3 separate regions of the Homo sapiens genome follow, and all the other regions are linked to region 2. The links are contacts of gene promoters, found by promoter capture Hi-C in blood cells and fetal thymus (Javierre and others, 2016). All regions are on one chromosome and are shown on one strand. The core of a region is centred on a gene start or on the middle of the fragment in contact, and the rest is flanking DNA. Distances in the headings are between cores, read along the strand shown. Region 1 overlaps MED12L (mediator complex subunit 12L). Region 2 holds the start of MBNL1 (muscleblind like splicing regulator 1). Region 3 overlaps MED12L (mediator complex subunit 12L).

What was found. The method cuts DNA at HindIII sites, captures the fragments that hold promoters and counts their contacts. A CHiCAGO score of 5 or more calls a contact.
Region 1: a contact is called between a fragment that was not itself captured here and the fragment with the promoter of MBNL1 in region 2, in 2 of 17 cell types (monocytes and neutrophils). The highest score is 5.4, in monocytes.
Region 3: a contact is called between a fragment that was not itself captured here and the fragment with the promoter of MBNL1 in region 2, in 1 of 17 cell types (neutrophils). The highest score is 5.4, in neutrophils.

What each region holds. Positions count from the first base shown.
Region 1 is chr3:151,321,899-151,324,598 of GRCh38, forward strand. The region is part of intron 16 of MED12L (mediator complex subunit 12L); the gene reads left to right. Among named protein-coding and RNA genes, the nearest start is that of P2RY13, 6.3 kb to the right of the region's middle. The HindIII fragment of the contact is 3,707 bases long and covers 1-2,700 here.
Region 2 is chr3:152,267,677-152,270,376 of GRCh38, forward strand. It overlaps MBNL1 (muscleblind like splicing regulator 1), which reads left to right and starts at 1,253. Exons shown (of 10, transcript NM_021038.5): 1 at 1,253-1,416. MBNL1-AS1 (MBNL1 antisense RNA 1) reads right to left here and starts at 1,950. Exons shown (of 2, transcript NR_027038.1): 1 at 1,752-1,950; 2 at 1-1,396. RefSeq lists enhancers at 456-1,298, 741-840, 1,299-2,140 and silencers at 1,031-1,090, 1,141-1,190, 1,591-1,700. The HindIII fragment of the contact is 10,088 bases long and covers 1-2,700 here.
Region 3 is chr3:151,385,018-151,387,717 of GRCh38, forward strand. It overlaps MED12L (mediator complex subunit 12L), which reads left to right. Exons shown (of 45, transcript NM_001393769.1): 36 at 13-174. Among named protein-coding and RNA genes, the nearest start is that of P2RY12, 1.6 kb to the left of the region's middle. The HindIII fragment of the contact is 1,767 bases long and covers 446-2,212 here.

The DNA.
Region 1 (2,700 bases), core at 79-2,578, 950 kb before region 2:
TCCCATCTTATTTTTTTCTATAAGGACTTCATATTAGAATGAGAATGGAGGCAAGGAAGCAGAAACCCGGGTTACATGGATATTGAAAATATTGATACACCCAGTTTCTGACCAAGGCTGAGTTCTCTGGCCTGTGTGGTTGCACCCAACTGTTTGATTTGTACTTCTCTGTTAGCTATTTCACATGGAACATGTTCACTATGCACATCATAGCATAGAAAGGAATTATTCTACATGTTCATAGAAATCCCTGGGAAAAGCCTAACTAATATAAAAGCTGATTTGTTTCTCCCTGGAAGTCTTTTGAGGCAGGGTCTTGCTCTGTCATCCAGGCTGGAGTGCAGTGGTGTGATCATGGCCCACTGCAACCTCAACCTCCTGGACTCAAGTGATTCTCACACTTTTGCCTCCCGAGTTGCTGGGACTACAGGTGCATGCCACCAGGCCCAGGTAATTTTTTTTTTATTTTTTTATTTTTTGTAGAGTTGCGGTTTTACCATGTTGTCCAGGCTGGTCTCAAACTCCTGGGCTCAAGCAATTCACCTGCCTTGGCCTCCCAAAATGCTGGGATTATAGGTGTGAGCTACTGCATCTGGCGCCCCATGGAACTCTTTTAAACTGACTTATCCATTATGGGAAGATAAGGGTTGCTTCTACTTCCTCACTTCCCATTCACAAACTGGAGCTCACCCCACTTCCACCTCAGAGTTATCGTTGACCTTATAGTTGTAGATTCATCACTTTTGACTAAATTTAGAGTGTATAATTCTGTTGGCTATCTCTTCCTCCTTGAATCTCTCTTGTTCCTTGGTATTCAGTACACTGGACTTCCTGATTCTCCTTTTCTACTAACACTACCCACTCCTCCCAGTTCCAAGGCATCATCCCCTGTTCCTCTTCTGTCTGTTGTGACCATGAGACCTGTGTAGTATGGCCTCTGGGGTTCTCATCTCATTCCTTTTTCTCTCCCTGTCTCAAAAAAGATTATTCCCTAGACCTCTAATCTTAGTCCTATTTTTGGAGCCTGGGTCCATATTTTGGCCCAGCTGTGGGCTCTTTGACCCTAGCTCTTTCACTGATACCTCAAATGGAACATACCCCAAATCCACTTCTGTGATGATGACCTAGCAAATCGTTCAAGCTAACGGTCCTGAGAGAAATCAACCCTCAATTCGAGGAGAAGGGGGTGGAGGCATTATGGATCCCATTGCTAATATATTTTACATGTTAACCACATGTTTTACATAGAGTCCCCCACTTTCAATGGTCTTGGACTCTGAACTTAAAACCTCTCTCCCTGAGAATGTCTGGAAGGTCCATGTCAGATGTTTTCCCCATCATTCTTGCCTGCATACATGGAAAGCCTCTTTAATTGACCTGGCCTCACTGGCTCTTCCTTCAGTCTAGAATCATCCTATAGTTGGTCAATTGATTTTCCTAAAGCACAGCCCAGAACATGTGGTTCTTCACCTTAGAAACCTTCAACGACTCATTAGTGAAGACTAGATGTCCCAGTACAGTGCTTGGCTGTACAGTCCTGCATCTCTGTCCCAAATGTATTCCCTATGTCATGTGCTGTAGGCTCAGGCCCCCTGCAACCCTCACGCTCCAACCACAGCACAGTTCCACCCCTACCTGAGCCTGCCTTGAAACTGCTTATTGTGCCGCAGGGTTCCCTTTTGAATGCTCTGTTTTCTTCAAGTTCCAGTTCAAATTTCCATCTCCTGTGAACCCTTCTTCATTTTCTCCATGTGGAATGAATTGCCTATTCCTTTGAACTTCTGTGGTGTGTCTCTCACACCTCTTATCACATCTTGAGTCATTATAATCTGTGTTCCTTACCAGTGTTCACCTTCTAGAGATGCAAAAGGCCCTGTACCCAAGTTGATGATGAAGGAATGACTGGCTAAATGAACAAATGAATCCACTATTGGGGAGTTTACTCCCCCTGAGCTCTCAAGTGCTGGAGGGACCCCTGAAGTAATTGTAGGTGCCACTATTGCACCATTCATACCCCTGAGGTTGTTGAAGCCCATTCGTGTTGAGACTTCTCTCTTCCCCTCTAAGAAGCCTCCTCATTCTCCCTAGTGGGGCCTTTGAGGAATTCTGCTAAGTCTGACAGGACAGAGAGGCAGTGACCAGAGCAGTTGAGGTGCTGGTCTTGAGACCACCTTCCTGGGTTTCAGTCCCAGCTCTGCCCCATTTGTTGGTGAGTGATGTGCACCATGGGCAAGGTGTATGTTTACTTTGTGCTTCAGTTTTGTTCCTATTTTTAACTAGAGAGCCTAGTAGTATTTGTCTCATAAGATTGTAGTAAGAATTAGAAAAATGATAATCTTTGTAAAGAGCCTGGCACACAGCAGGCATTCAGGAAATGAGTGTGAGCTGCTTGGGTAAGGTCCTGGGAGGTTCTTGTTAGCCTCTAGGTCAGGGCTTATTACCTGGCAGCATCTGGGCTGGTTACTACCCACACAGAAACGTATCGTTTTTGTGGGGTCAGGGAGCATGGGGGTGGCTACGGAAGTTTTGTAAATAACAGGAAATATAGCATGGGAGACTGGAATTGTGAATTCACTTGAGAAAATTAGACCTGAGGTTGTAAATACAGTTGTTAAGAATATGGGCTTAGAAGCCACGTCTCAATTAAAGCCCCATTCCTGCAGATGGCAAGCTCTGTGACCTCATGCAAGTTACTTAGCC
Region 2 (2,700 bases), core at 3-2,502:
TGTTCTGGAAGGGATCAGTGTACAATTTTAACTCAGTGCTTTGTGGATCTAGCTAAAGGTCAAGAACTAAAGTCGGCTATTAGTGCCTCTGGAAGATATTTCTGCACTTTAGCACCTTTCTGATGTTTTTCCTTCACCTCGAGCTGGCCTCACTCTCTTCAACAAAACCGAACCTGCAGGAAGAATGTTGTACCATATCCAGCATTTTTGTCCCAACAAACATGGGACAAACGTTTTTCACTAGAATCATCCTTGAACAAGTTATCCGAATTCCTTACATTCAAAGGAAATCCTGCCCCCAGTCTCCAAAACTTCATCACATCACAGACGTTCAGGATTCTTTCCATTCAAAGCAAAGCCAAGTTACATCTTATAGCACCCAGTGAATTATGATATGGGGCTGCGGTTTATTTGCTCTGGCGACAATATGGCTTACTTGCCGTGGAATATCCCGGTATTTCAGAAGTAACATATTATTTTTAAAGAGGGAGCTTTGCTTTCTCTAAATCACATGGTGCAAAGTTGGGAATACAGTGGCCTGTAAATTACAAATATTATTTACAAACTAGAAGGAAAGCTGACATGTGTTTGTGCCTGTGTGACAGTTTCACTAAGGAATTCCAAAACTGTGGATAGCCTGTTACTTGAGAAAAATACACGGTGGCAGTCTTGCAGATGTTTTTCCCGCCTGTTAGCCCTCCAGGTTCAAAAACTGTTTGGTGCATTTTAAGGCGGCAGTCTCACCAGATCGCAGGATTCTAGTCTAATTGGCTTCTAACCTTCAATCTAACCTTGCCGGCTTCCTTGCAAAGCCCGGTGCAAGGGCCTCTTTCAAAATGAACCCACTGGTGTGCCTAGCAGTCGGTAGAAGAAGCGGGAGGGCGTCCGGTCTGCACGCCCGCCGCGAGGTTACAATGCTGAACGCATGAGATGGAAGATACCAACGGGAGGCCGAGGGGATCCACGGCGCCCGCGCGGGCTCCGGCTTCCTCCTGCTCTCGGCGCCGCTGGGCGACCGCCCATGACCCGCTCTTGCGGGCTCTGTCCGGTTGACAGGCGACCCTGTGGCCCGGGGAAGCGCGGGAGGGCGCCGGCGGAAAGTTGAAGAGCGTTTTTCTCGCCGCCGCGTGCATTAGGAGCTCGACGAGTCCGCCCTGGGCTTCCTGGTGGGGCTGGGCGGGCGGGGGAGGGGCCGCGCAGCAGCAGCGGAAGCCAGACCTCGGCGATAAGAGGCTGCACAGCGACATGCAACAGTCTTTTCACTGCAGCTGAATGAGTTGTGGCGCCCACAATGCTCCCATGACAAGGAGCTGACAAGTTCCATTTTCCGTCGCGGGCATCTTGGAATCATGACTCCCACAATGCCTTGGGCACTTGGTCGACAGTGGGGCCGCCTCTGAAAAAAAAATGTGAGAGGTAAGTTTCCATTTTCACAGTTTCCCCGCGCCGCTTCATTGTTCGGACTCCGGCGGGTCTGCCCGTGGCTGAAGGAGGAAGTGCGAGGAGGTGCTCGCCGGCCGCGGTTCTCCCGGGCAGGGGCGGGCCGCTCGCGGTAGTTGGTTTCGCGTCCCTCAGCACCTCCTGCCCGGGGGAAGGCGGGAGGGTGAGCCGCAGCCGCTCCTGCGCCCTTCCCTGCCGCGGGCTCTGCGGACGCTGTCACGGCACAGCCCGCGCACGGCTTGGCAGCCCAGCGGGACCCAGGGAGAAACAGGGGGGCGAGAAGAGAAACAGGTGCGTGCAAGTGTACTCACAACTTAATGACCTTTGTCGGGGGAAGGTGTGAGTCCCTCTGAGTCGAGCGGCGCGCGGGTCTTCCCGGCGGCTCCCGCATCCCTGGCCCCGGGGCTGCCATCCCGCCCGGTTTTCATCTGGGCCAAATATGTGCACGCAAAGGTTAATTCTCTGCTTGCTACCCATAAATTACGCATGACATGTTTAGCTGGGCTGCCTTATATGGAGAGTGCTGTATTTCAGGCCAGTTTGCCTTTTGCCAAGTTTACAGGGCGGAAGACGCCCTGTAGGAGAGGGCTGCCTCCTCCTTTTCTTCTTCTTCTTTTTTTTTTCATCGTTTTGTAGTGCGTCACTCAAAAACTGTAAGAAAAGTAAGTATAGAAGCTCTTTGGGTGGAGCCGCAGTTGGTTGAATTGCTTTCATGAAAGGTTGAAAAGAATGAAAAGTAGTTAGTACTTGGGTTCTGGTTTTTAGACAAAAGCAGGACAAATATGTAGCCACCCCCCAACTTTTTTTTTTTTTTTTAAACGGAGCCGGAATCTGTTATTGGTAGTAATGTGTCATGTGAGAATACTTTGATTCCAGAGCCTGTAACACGAGCAGGTATATGGTGGCGCTTATGCCTTCCCCTCGCACAGCACTTTACAACTACAGGGGTGTTGCTGCCAGAGTAATATTGTATTCTTAAGGCTCTCTGGGGCCGGGAGAGTATGCGGCTGTTGGGATTCTGGGGTGTATTTCCGTGGAGTATGTCTCCCCAGGATTAAAGTTAAGAAGCTGCCGGAAAGGTTGTTGCCGCTGACTTCACTTTGTGTGCCCACCAGCACAGGCACAAGTCATAGCAGATGGATGGCAAACTCTGCCATATACTCTGAGGAGTTTCTTAAATTAATACGCTAGGAGAGAAGTCATAATTAATGCTTTTAGACTTTCGAGCCCTCTGCAGCGTGCTTTGAAATACTACACCGG
Region 3 (2,700 bases), core at 79-2,578, 880 kb before region 2:
TTTTTTCTTTAGAAAGAGCTAGGAGACAAGCGATCAGAAAGTATTGACAAAGTTCGACAGTTACTACCTTTGCCGAAACAGACATGTGATGTCATCACTTGTGAACCTATGGGTTCCTTGATTGACACAAAAGGAAACAAAATTGCTGGATTTGACTCTATAGATAAAAAACAGGCAAGAGTGAATGTTTTTTCTTATATATAAATTTATTTACAAAAGATGAAATACTTTTTTTTGTCTTACCATAGGATATATAAAATATATTAATTTTGCTGTTGATGTTTTTAAGGCATATGCTTGTCTTCTAAGTGTACTTAGTCATTGGCATTATCATATAAAGAGGTCATATCTTTGAAGATCTACGTTTTATATGTTTAAAGGACTTAAAATGTTTCCCTGAATTTAAGTAAATTTTTGGAAACCTACCAAGAGAAAACTAAGTAAAAGCTTAGTGTAAAAAAAAAATTGCATAAATAAGTTCTGATTATACTTCAGATTTAGAAGCAGAATATATTTATCAATGAAAAATTTCTTGTAAGCTGAGCATGGTGGCACATGTCTTTAGTTCCAGCTACTTGGGAGGCTGAGGCAGGAGGATTGCTTGAAGCCAGGAGTTTAAGGCTGCAATGTGCTAGGCTCATGCCTGTGAATAGCCACTACACCCTAGCCTGGGCAACAAAGTGAGACCCTGTCTCTGGGGGGGGAAAAAAAAAAAAAAACCTTCCTGTAGTAAGCTATTTCAAATAAAAATTATTTTAATTGTTAGGATATTCTCTATTCCTATCAAGCAGTATTTAATGGACATTTGTTTTATATAAGATATTAAAGATGGTTCTCTAAAATATGAGAAAATTGGTCAGTTACTCTTTTAATGAACAGTAAGCAACCACCGACATTCCACAATCACCAAGATGAAAGACAGAGTTCCTACCCTCAAGGGGGAAGTAGACAGACAATTACAGTGTAATGAGATTTGTGTGACATGGTACAGAGAGAGTATTAGGGGATAGAATAGAGGGTCCCCAGGAAAATTGACACGAGTCATTTTGAAGGATTAAGAGTTAGCTGGGAGGTAGGGAAAATTGTGGTACAAATAAAGGGAGAGTTTATATGAAGACATGAAAGAATCAGATTTACCAGGGAATTTAGAGTAGCCTGAGAATCTAATACCAGTTTGTGTAAAGAAAAAAAGCTAAAGTCATGGTCAAGTTTGAGTTTGCAGTGTCAGCGGACTTCCTGGTAGTAAGACATCTGGAATCCATTTGGATGTGTGGTTTTTACACCAAGGAAAAAGTTCTCATCTCAAGACAAATATTAGGAAACAGTCAATTTACAGGTGGCAATTGAACCTTGGTTTTATTTTGTTTTACTTTGTTTATTTATATTTTTTGAGATGGAATCTCGCTCTGTCGCCCAGGCTGGAGTGCAGTAGTGCGATCTTTGCTCACTGCAACCTCTGTCTCTCGGGTTCAAACGATTCTCCTGTCTCAGCCTCCTGAGTACCTGGGATTACAGACATGCACCACCAGGCCCAGCTAATTTTTTTTTGTTTTTGTCTTTGTTTTTTTTTTTTTTTCAAGACAGAGTCTTGCTCTGTCACCCAGGCTGGAGTGCAGTGGCGTGATCTCGGCTCACTGCAACCTCCACCTCCCGGGTTCAAGCAATTCTCTGCCTCAGCCTCCTGAGTAGCTGAGATTACAGGTGCCTGCCATCATGCCTGGCTAATTTTTGTATTTTTAGTGGAGACGGAGTTTCACCATCTTGGCCAGGCTGGTCTTGAACTCCTGACCTCGTGATCCACCTGCCTCAGCCTCCCAAATTGCTGAGATTACAGGTGTGAGCCACCACACCTAGCCTTTTTTTGTATTCTTAGTAGAGACGGGGTTTCACCATGTTGGCCAGGCTGGTCTCAAAGTCCTTACCTCAGGTGATCCCACCCGCCTCAGCCTCACCAAGTGTTGGGATTACAGACACGAGCCACTGTGCCTGGCCTGAACCTTAGTTTTAGATGAAGCTACTCATAAAAGAATGCATATAGATAACAACAGTAACACTTACATCTTAGGGAATGACTGAGTAGTTATTTGGGGGCCATTTAAGGAAAAATATTTTTAAATTGACATTTTAAGGCAAGTGCCAAGAGATGTCACCAATTAATGTTAAGAATAAAAAGAGGGTAACCGTTTTTTTTTTTCTAGAGTCAGTAAATATAAGCTTGAGTTGAAAGACTTTACTTATTCCTGCTGCTACAATTTAATTCTCTAATAATAATATTATATTCAGAGTATGGCTTATTAAGTACAGGGCCCACATATTGAACCAAGTTCATGCAGATTTGGATTGAAGTTAATACTAACCCAATTACAGGTTGACTATAACTTGACTCTTAAATTTGATATTATCTTCAAAATTATAAATAGATTACAGAGATTTAGAACTGGTTATAATTTAGTAAGATTAACTTTGCAGTGTTAGAATTTTTAGCAACAAATTTTTAGAATTTTTTTAGCAAAAAGAGGAAATACACATTAACAATAAAATATGCTAGACTGCCTCTGTTGCCTAAACAGAGCATCATGTGGTTAAAGAACTGTAGAACCGGGCTTACAAAGGTCTGAATTCTAGCCACTGCTCTCCGGTGATGTAGCTGTGTAACCCTCTCTGCTGTATTCTCGGGTTCTCTAGGGCTCATGCCAGCCA